Regions from separate parts of the Homo sapiens genome. Here region 1 is linked to region 2. Evidence: promoter capture Hi-C in 16 types of primary human blood cells and fetal thymus (Javierre and others, 2016). All regions are on one chromosome and are shown on one strand. Each heading gives the region's core, a stretch centred on a gene start or on the middle of the fragment in contact. The rest is flanking DNA. Distances are from core to core; before and after follow the strand shown.

Region 1 (4,908 bases), core at 449-2,948, 1.2 Mb after region 2:
TATTGTTGGGAATTCTGCAGAAGTAATTTGTGATTTTATAAAAGCAAAAACAAAAAACAAACTCTCAAAGTTTGGCATGCTTCAGAATCATCAGGAGGGTTTGTCGAAGCCACAGGTTATTAGACCCCATCCCCTAGAGATTCTGTTTCCATACTTTGAGGTAGAGCCCCCAAATCTGCATTTCTAATAAGTTTTCCAGGGATGCTTATGCTGCTAGTCCAGGCCCAGGGTTGGAGGATCGCTGCATTAGACTATCAGATTAGCATAAACATTATTTAGTTTTTCATATAGACCAAGCAAAAGCAAGAGTAAATAAATTCTCAAAACACAAAGATAGCAAGCAATGTCCAGAGTCAGGGCCCGCTTCATGAGCGTGACCACTGCAGTTACACAGTGCCCTGCGCTCAGAAGAGCCCTGCCCTGGGGGTTTAATACTCTGATTTCATCTTTGAATTTGTGTTTTGTAAGTGAAATTCAACAGGACAATGGAGCATGGTTGGTGGGCTTGAAGCCTTGGTGTAGGCCTGCTTCCTACTACCTCTCCACCCCACAAGGATGGTTCTCAGTCCCCACTGTTCCCTGTCTCCTGGTGCCCCAGACAATCTGACTTTACTCTCCGCAAACTTGCCCCACAGCCACTTCCACCACATTCCACTCACCCCCAAAGGGGCCTGGGCACTGATGCAGGAAGGGTCAGGGTTGGGTGCAAGTCTCAATGGCTTCTCTAGGTGGGGTAAGGTATCTATGATCATCCCTAGTCTGGGCTGACAGTGCCACAGTCCATTCTGCTGGCAACTCAAACTTAGGACTATGCCACTCAGAGACAGATGTTGGTGGGAAAGACCTGTCCTTCTTCTAAATTTTAAAATATTCAAGTGGTTGAGTTATAGACTCCTAAAGGAGAAACAATTTGAGTTGAATAACACCTCTAAAATGAAAAGATTCTCCAGACTTTTGCAAATGAGCTTTGAATGAGGTATTTCAGGGACTTTTTCAGCTATTCAAGTGATCACAAAGAAAAGGGACATTTGAAAGTCTTCAATGAAGCTTTTATTGGGAACTTTATACTCTCTCCGTCTTCTCTCCCACCATAGCCAATTCATCTACAAGTGTGCCTAATTGGTTATGTGCATCTTCATGGTTTGAAGACTACTCTAGACTCGTGTTTCTCAAACAATTAAAGTGCATATAAACCACTTGGAAGTGTAGATTCTGATTCAGTAGGCCTGGAGTAGAACCCAGGAATCTGCATTTCTAATAAGCTTCCAGGTGATGGTGATGATGCTGGTCTATTCTAGATCCTTGTCCGCCAAATATGGTCTATGAGCCAGTAGCATCAGCAATCCCTAGAAGTTTGTTAGAAATTTAGAATTTCTGGCCCCAACCCAGACCTACAAAAAAGAATCTGCATTTTAATAAGATATCTGGGAGATTCAAAAGCACACTGAAGTGTGAGAAGCATTACCCTAAGCCTTCTGAATCATCTTTCTCCTCCCATTTCTTCTGCTTTCCAAAGCCACAAGATGGAGATCTGTCACTGAGACTACTGGTGACTGTCCCAAATTTATAATCTGGTAGGTTTTAGGAAAGACACATTCAATGTTGTTTTATTCTTTATCCTGACTCTCCCACCATGTCCCAGGATAGTAGAACTTCTGGCAATGACCTAAGACTCATCTGTAGCTTCCATTTTTATAAAATACTAGCAGGACCAACATTCTCATTATATAGAGGAGGCTCAATCTGGACAGGAGGTATCTACAGGGAATCATAGAGTGCACTTACCCATTGGGCTGTGAATAGTTGCAAGTTATTCATAGGCTGAGAGAATAAGAAAATTCAACAGGAGAGGTCTACAGTTTCTGCAATACAGTATTAAGTGGATATATTTATGCTACTTGCTCTGAGAAGTTGTATGGCAGAGTGGTTAGGAACACACAGAGGCTCCAGAGATAGACTGCCTGGATTCAGATTGTACTCATGTCCTCTACGAGCTGTGTGACCCTGGACCAACTACTTAAACTCCCTGTGCCTGTTTCCTCCTTTAAAACAGATGTGATAACAGCACCTACTTCATAAGGTATTATGAGTATCAAAGCCATAAGATCCTTGGAATCATGGCTTGCATAAAGTAGTAAGCTTTGCAAAGATGTCTTAATGCAAACTTGGAAAGACAGCTAAATCTTAAACTTTCATTTGCAGGGCTTCAACATTTCTATAACTTTGCTTAATTGAAACTGTTGCATTATAATTGGGGACACATTTTGCATTCCATAAGAGAGAAGAGATCCTATCTCAAGTATCAGGAACATCCCTATAGTTACTATAGCAATTAACACATTTAACAAGACACTTGAAAGAGGATCTGCTGGCCCCAAGGACCCTTGAAAGGGGGACTGTTGGCCCCAAGACCCTGAAGGTGTGGCCCTGAGTCTATCTCTGTATTTCATTGTCACCCACCTGGCAGAGGAGGAAAATTCAAAGTACACCTCCAAATTCCCACATAAGCAGAAAGGCTCACCACTTTAAAAACCAATTTATTTTACTTTAATATTCAGAGATTGTTATTTTCTGAACAAACATCTATCAAAAGCTGCCAAGGTACTGCAGAAAATGAACTTTAAAATTGGGTGTTTAGCAATTAAATCTCACTCCGTAAATTGGCTAGGATCCATGTAATAAATTAGAATATACAAACACTGCTTTTCCATTGAAATAAAAACCTAAGGGGAAACCCCATGTAACAGAGACCGTCAGATTTCAACACCCCTTCTCCACCCAAGATATTGAAGATAGGATCAAATATATTGCAAGATGTCTGCCACACTCACAGGCTGTTCCGATGCCTGCCTGACACAGCCGCCAGTTTTTCCTATGCTCCATCAATTATTTCTTTGTTTTGCCTGGATGGTGCTTGTAAACTCCTCAAGGTGTGCTCCTGGGCAGTTACGTGCATTTGAGATTTTTCCCTTCTGATCCCTACTTGGCTGTCTGTGGACCAAAACTGATTTGCAGGCAAGGGAAGACTGCTGAAAATTTCATGACATTTAGATTTTTATAAAGCATATGGTGGTGGCTCAATAAGTTTGCTTACCTTGGATTAAAACCTATTAACGTTCCAGCATTTTCCTCTCCGTGAGATTCATTTCTGACTCGCTTGTGGTGACTTGCAGAGCCCTTCATTACAGCTCAGGGGCACAACTGATGCCGCACAAGCCATTAAAAATGAGTTTGCGAGAGTACAAAAAAGAAACCTTTGTAGACGAGGGCCAATTTGTTTCGAAGGCGATGCACTGTAAGAGCATTCACAAAGCGGCAAGCATTATCTCAGATTCAAGCTATGCCGTTTTCTCTCCTATTTTTAAATACCAAATAGAGAAATGGGAGAGTCCTTTCTTTGTGACAGCAGCTTTGGTTCCTGCCCTTATTTTCTGCCATTGTAGCTCCAGTTAAGCTGTGAGAACAGCCCTGTGGGTTTTTTTTTTTTTCCGTTGGTTAAAATCGATGTTTGTCTGGGGTCCTTATGAGAGTAATCTTATTCTCTATGCCTCAGTTTCTTTATATGCAAGGTATCTCCAATACCAAACTCACAGGTTGTTGGGAAGGGTGGGAGATCTAATGAGTATAATTTTTATAAGTGAAAATGAGTACTCAATAAAGCACAAATAATTATTTTTGTTGTTATTAAAGCAGGCACATTTTACTATGTGCCATCTCAAGATTCTCCCATTGTTTTTCCTAAGTGATTGCAATTTAATTTGTTTTTAATTAGCCTTCATTATTTACATATTCACCCTAGTTGAAAGCTCCAAGACAAATACGTTTGGATCAGGGCTTCTCAACCTCAGAAATATTGACATCTTGAGCTGGACAATTCTTTCAGGGTGGGGACTGTCCTGTGCATTATAGGACTTTTCACGAAATCCTTGACCTCTACCTGTTAGGTGTCAGCATCCCTCCCCACTCCCCACAGTTGTAACAACCAAAAGTGTGTCCAGCCTTTGCCAAATGTCCCCTGGGGGACAAAATAACCCAGTAGAGTACCACTGCTTCAGAGTTTATCTAGCTGGTGTTGTCTTTGGTTGCATTTACTGTACATGTAGAACAGCAAGAGCACTTGAACTGGTGAAAGCTATAGAAACCAGTGACGCACCCTAAGAACATATTACAATTTGTATGACAGAGATATTAACCAGGCCTGAAAGCTAATAGCGGCCACTAAAGTCAAGAATGAGACTGAGGCCATCGACAGGAATTTTTGAGTAAGATTAGGGGAGAAAGGAAAGTAGCTCAGAATGAGTCCGTAGAACTGCATGGGTACATCCACCTAATAGTGAAGAATACTTCCAAACTCCAGGGGCCAGAAGAGAAGAAAGAGAGAAAAGTACCCAGGATAGAGCTGGCCAAAGGGAAGAGGCGACAGGGAAGGGAAACAGCTTTCATGTTCAAGCAGAGGGCAGCTGAAGAGGAAAGAGCACAGGGAAATATGATATACTGCAAACAAAACAGCAAGAAAAATGGAGAAAAGATGAGAGAAGGAAGGACAGAAAAGAAGCAAAATTCACAGTGAACATAGAGGAAAGAAATGAGGGTAAAGCCTAAAGGTGTAAAGATATGCCTGACTTCCGAGCTTATCTGGGACAAGTGTTAGCCCACGGGAAGTTCCACACCGGCCTCCCCACCCCGTAACTGCCTTCTTTCTACCACCGGTGTGGACTCGATGAACTGGATCTGCCTTCTCACAGGCTGCCCTGACCATTGAGTCGTGCAGTCAGGGGCCAGCTGGTCAAGAGGGACAGCATCTATTGCTCTGCCCATGCCTCAACCCAGATTCTGTCCTTTCCCCAGTCAAATCTAGTAAACTCAATGGCTCCTGGTTCCCAATGATAGCCATGTAGCAATACCATA
Region 2 (4,811 bases), core at 724-3,223:
GGGTGTAGTGGTGCAATCTCCGTTCACTGCAACTTCTGCCTCCTGGGCTCAAGTGATCCTTGCACCTCAGCCTCCTGAGTAGCTGGTGCACACTACCATGCTGGTTAATTTTTTGTGTTTTGTTTTGTTTTGTTTTGTTTTTTGTAGAGACAGGGTTTCACAATGTTGCCCAGGCTGGTCTTGAACTCCTGGAGTCAAGCAATCTGCCTGCCTCAGCTTCCCAAAGTACTAGGATTATAGGCATGAGCCAACGTGCCCATCTCCCACATAGACTTATGATGGCTTTTAGCAGCTACAGAGACTAAGTCCTTCCAAATTTGAATCCAGAGGAAGACAAGCATCTTTATCCTAGCATTCCTAGCAAAAGCTCTGAGATTGACTTGGATTAGACCAACCTAGGTCATGTGCCCCACTCCTGAGCCAGGCATGGTGGCCAGGGAAGTTTTATGACCTGCTTTGCTCAGGTGTAGTTTTCATGTCCTACTTCCAAAGTAGGAGTTGGAACTCCACCCATACCATGAGAACTGAGAGGCAATGAGGGGCAGGTCTCCAAGAAACAATATGAACATAGAATATATGTATTTTTCATTTTAATGGCTGCTTTAGAAAGCAACAAGTTTGCTTTCTAAAGACACTGTAACAATTTACAGTTCCTCCAAAAAGTATAATAGTACCTTTTCCCCCACAACTTCACCAATGATATCTTAGTTTTCTTTTTAAATGCTTGCCTACCTGATGTTTACATTATTAGTTTTAATTTATAATTTCCTAGTTCCTAGTACTAGTGTTTCTAAACTATTTTTTTCATATATTCATTGGCTACTTGGATTTGCTTTTCTGTCCATGGATTCTCCACATCTCTTGTCCGTTTTCCTATTGTTTATCTTTTGTCCTTTTTTTTGTCAATTTATAAAAGCACTTTTTATATTATAGCTAATAACCCTCTGTCTGTCCTCTGCATTGCAAATGGGTGAAGAAAAATTAGCCTGGAACTCTGCACATCTTCTCCTCCTCCATCTTTATTGTCCATACTAGACCCATAGTCCTCAGGATGCAGTCTAGATCAATATGCCAGGAATACTATGGGAAAACTGCAACATTTGTTTTTTAAATTTTTTTAAATAATTTTTTTAGAGAAAAGGTCTTGCTTTGTTGCCCAGACTGGAGTGCACTGATGCGATCATAGCTCACTGCAGCCTCGAACTTCTTGGCTCAAGCGATCTTCCCACCTGATCGTTTTTGAAAAACAAAACAAGATAATTCCTGGTCAAGGACAAGTTTTCATCACCCACCTCTACCCCTCCCCAACCACACATACTGGGGCAAGATTGCTCAAATTTCAGTCATTCTGGAACCACCTCCCCAATTTTTGCCATATCCTTTAAGTTGTGTACTATTTATATTTCTGAAAATTGTCCTTTTTGCACAGATTTATTTTAAAAGCATATATCGTTGCTATTACATCATTGTAACTACTGGTTATATTTTTCCAATACGCATTAAAATAAATTCATAACTATGAAAATAAAAGACATTTATGTACTACCCAAAACATACCTACCTTTAGGAAACTGCATTAGAGCACGTCAATAGGATCACCAGGCTAGTCAAGGACAAGACCAAGGGTTTACAGAGCTGTGAGTTTCACGGCCTTACCACTCATTGATCGCACAACCACTCCCATGGAGTGCAGTGGGTGGTAGGTTCATTTACATCAGAGAAAAGGCAGCATGGAAGAGTGCAACTTCTGTACACATATTCAAGTAGTGAGAATTAGAATCCAGGTCTTTCTCCAAAAAACAACAATGTAGTAGGGAAAAGTGTTGATTTGGGAGAAATAGACCTCAGTCAAGTCCAGTGGACCAACTGTACATGGTATTCAGGGCCCAGGAAGCTGGACCCAGTGCCGACGAGGATTGCACTATGAACATTCTACATTCTGGCTAGAACATTAGGGATTCTAAGGTTCTGCTGATTATGCTGGCATCCAGGGCTTGCAAGTGGCAGCTTCAGCACCCAGGGCTGTGGTAGGTCACAGTCTCTGGGCGGGTCTCAGTGTCCAACACTGTAGCTGGTGCCTGCCAGGTTCCCAGTGGCTGGGGTCACCAGGTCTGAAGAGAGATGTGCTGGCTGCGGGCATGGGGCCAGATCCTCCTGCCAGTTTTCCTCTCCCTCTTTCTCATCCAATTGCTTATCAGCTTCTCAGAGAATGGTTTTATCCACAGCCCCAGGAACAATCAGAAACCAAGAGATGGGAATGAAGAGGGTGAGTGATCTGGAGTCCTGAGGTGGGTGCCCCACATGCTCCAGCGTTTTTTTTCCTTTTAATGGTGCCATCCTGGTGCACTGGAATTTTCATCTCAAAAGTTGTCATTTGGTGTTGGTGGGAAGACATTTTAAAGGTTCTAGATGGTTTTGGTGAAACTCAGTTAAATTGGACTCAGATTAATTTGGTTTATCTGAAATATGAAAGGTAGATTCAAAGTTTTAAATTTGAGGAAAAGCATGGTTTCTCCCCCATCACTTTCTGCATGACCTATGACATATAAGCTTTTTGTTGTGAATAAGCCATTGGGTTTTGTTCTAATCAGACCCACTCAATGGTCATAGTTCCTCTTTCTTAAGTTTTTTAAGGTCTTAGTTAATAAAATGCTTTATTTGTTCTTTTTCATAAAAAAATTACTTCAGTTTGGAGGCCTCTCTCGATTTCCTTCCAAATTGAAAAAATTTTGAAATGTTAAAAGTCATGCTGAGTTAAATTCATGAACCTGGAAATAAGGTTTTAAGTATCCTAAATTGGAACCGTATAGACAAAATAAGAGACAGAATTTGAATTACTTGGAAAGTGCCCTGTAAAGCCAAGATTGCCATTTTTACAAAGACAATGAGACAGAATAATTACTGCTGTCTGGTTTCCAGAGTAGAAAAGAATGTTAGTATCTGTAAGCAAATCAGTCTTCCTTACTAAAACCAAATCCACAGTTCTCAGCGTTGCACTGAAATAAGAATCTCCTTCGAGGGGGTAGGGTTGGGGCGACGCTGAATTAAAAGAGCTAGCTTGTTTTCTTTGGTTTCATCTTTCCCACAGATTTCTCTTTTTTAACCTCTTGGTCACCTCTATACATACTCTAAGAGAAATAGTGTTCCAGTGCCATCCTGGCCCCTTCTCCCAACAAACAGCACCTGAAAGCATAGGCCCAAACATAAAAACAAATTCTTCCTTTTGTTCCCTAGCAAACTGGACTCATACCGGAAATTTTTCACGTCTTAAGACTTTATCAAAATGCTGATGAAGAACAAAAAAAAAAAAAAAAAGAAAAAAGAAAGAAAACAAATAAAATAAATCAAAAATCACATCTAAGATAATCTCCAAAGATGGAAGTTTCTGTTGCTAGCTAGCTCACTTCTAGGGCTGGCCAACTGGAGCCCATGTTTCTAAGGAAACACCTTGCCTGCCAAGGGCCTCTCCTGAATGCTTGCATCTTAGTCTCAGGCCAGTTCCCCTTAGTGCTTGCATTTAATCTTCCCATCTAACAAGGATATGGTTTCTTAGACATCATGATACTTTTCACTTCCAAAACTGAAAAGGGGCTTCTAAGCCTTCACGAGATCCTCATCTATGTCCCAGATTGTGCCCTAAGTGACAGGCAACAGACAGGACTTTGTGAAGGATTGCACATCAAGTGAGACCTCCCCCTAAGCAGGTTGTTTTGATCCCCAGGACTTCTATCTCTGATGTTCATTTACATTTGAGAGCTTAGTAATCAATATCTCAAGAAATTATAGAAAGCACTTGATGCAACTTTGGGTTAATCTTCTAGAATCTAATGACTGGATTAAAAAATATACTGAAACCTAGAGAATTTTCTTCACTAAAAGTAACCAGACAACAAAGGGGCATAGTGCAAAAAATAAGTGGCAACTAAGGAAAGAACTGGAAGATTCTAGATCAGAACAGAATAGCACAGCATGGCAAGACTCCAAATGTTGCCACTCTCCCTTAGAGGTAACTAGTGAGTTACTATAATCCAATAATTTTTATTAATTCTCCCAAATCTGGAGAGAAACAAGTTGAGGGGGTATCCATTCTTTTTCTTATTCCGAAGATGAGAAGAGGAAATGGCTACTGCAGAGAAATAGGTGGAATGAGGACCTGAAGAGAGAGGGCCTGACTCTCTGAAGGAAACTCAGGTTCCTGCGTTACAAGCTGGATTTGAGGGTGGATCTAGAGTCCAAAGATACCCCTTCATGGAAATGGGAAACACCTCTGATAAGCTCTAGCAAACCTTGGCACTGGAAAATGACAAACCTCAAAAGAGAGAGCAGAGTCAGATATTCTAACAAAGCCTGGCACAGCCTCATTTGAGTTCTCCCCCTTGTCTAATGCTGAAAACAATGGAGTGAATAGAACATAAAATGCCATAAAACTGTAGCTTCTTGAAAAAAATCTCAAGGATCATGGTAAGGTGGTTAGGATCTCACCTACACTATATCAGAACAAATGGAAGGTCTGAACAGAGCTGTGCAAGCATTAGTAGAATGAAAACAATAGAGCAACTATGTAAACCCTGCACAGCAAAATAAAGAAATAAAGGAGTATACGATAGCATGCAAACACACACACACACACACACACACACACACACACACACACACCCCAAATAATCTACCCTAGAAGAGAACACAACTCAAGAAACATGAAAATTTCCCACAAGTGCTTTGAGCTAGAGAACAATCAAACGAGAAATATTCAGTGAAACAAGCCTCGAAGTCGATAGCAAGATATCAGAATGAAATTAAAAGGCAGATAG

The links. Contacts are between HindIII fragments. The CHiCAGO score rates a contact against its expected background, and 5 or more counts as called.
Region 1: a fragment that was not itself captured here is called in contact with the fragment with the promoter of PTTG1IP2 in region 2 in 1 of 17 cell types (total B cells); the score reaches 5.4 in total B cells.

The regions. Positions count from the first base shown.
Region 1 is chr7:91,640,280-91,645,187 of GRCh38, forward strand. No RefSeq gene overlaps it. Among named protein-coding and RNA genes, the nearest start is that of MTERF1, 240 kb to the right of the region's middle. The HindIII fragment of the contact is 877 bases long and covers 1,261-2,137 here.
Region 2 is chr7:90,467,666-90,472,476 of GRCh38, forward strand. It overlaps PTTG1IP2 (PTTG1IP family member 2), which reads left to right and starts at 1,974. Exons shown (of 7, transcript NM_001365443.2): 1 at 1,974-2,266. The coding sequence starts at 2,122. The HindIII fragment of the contact is 9,262 bases long and covers 1-2,548 here.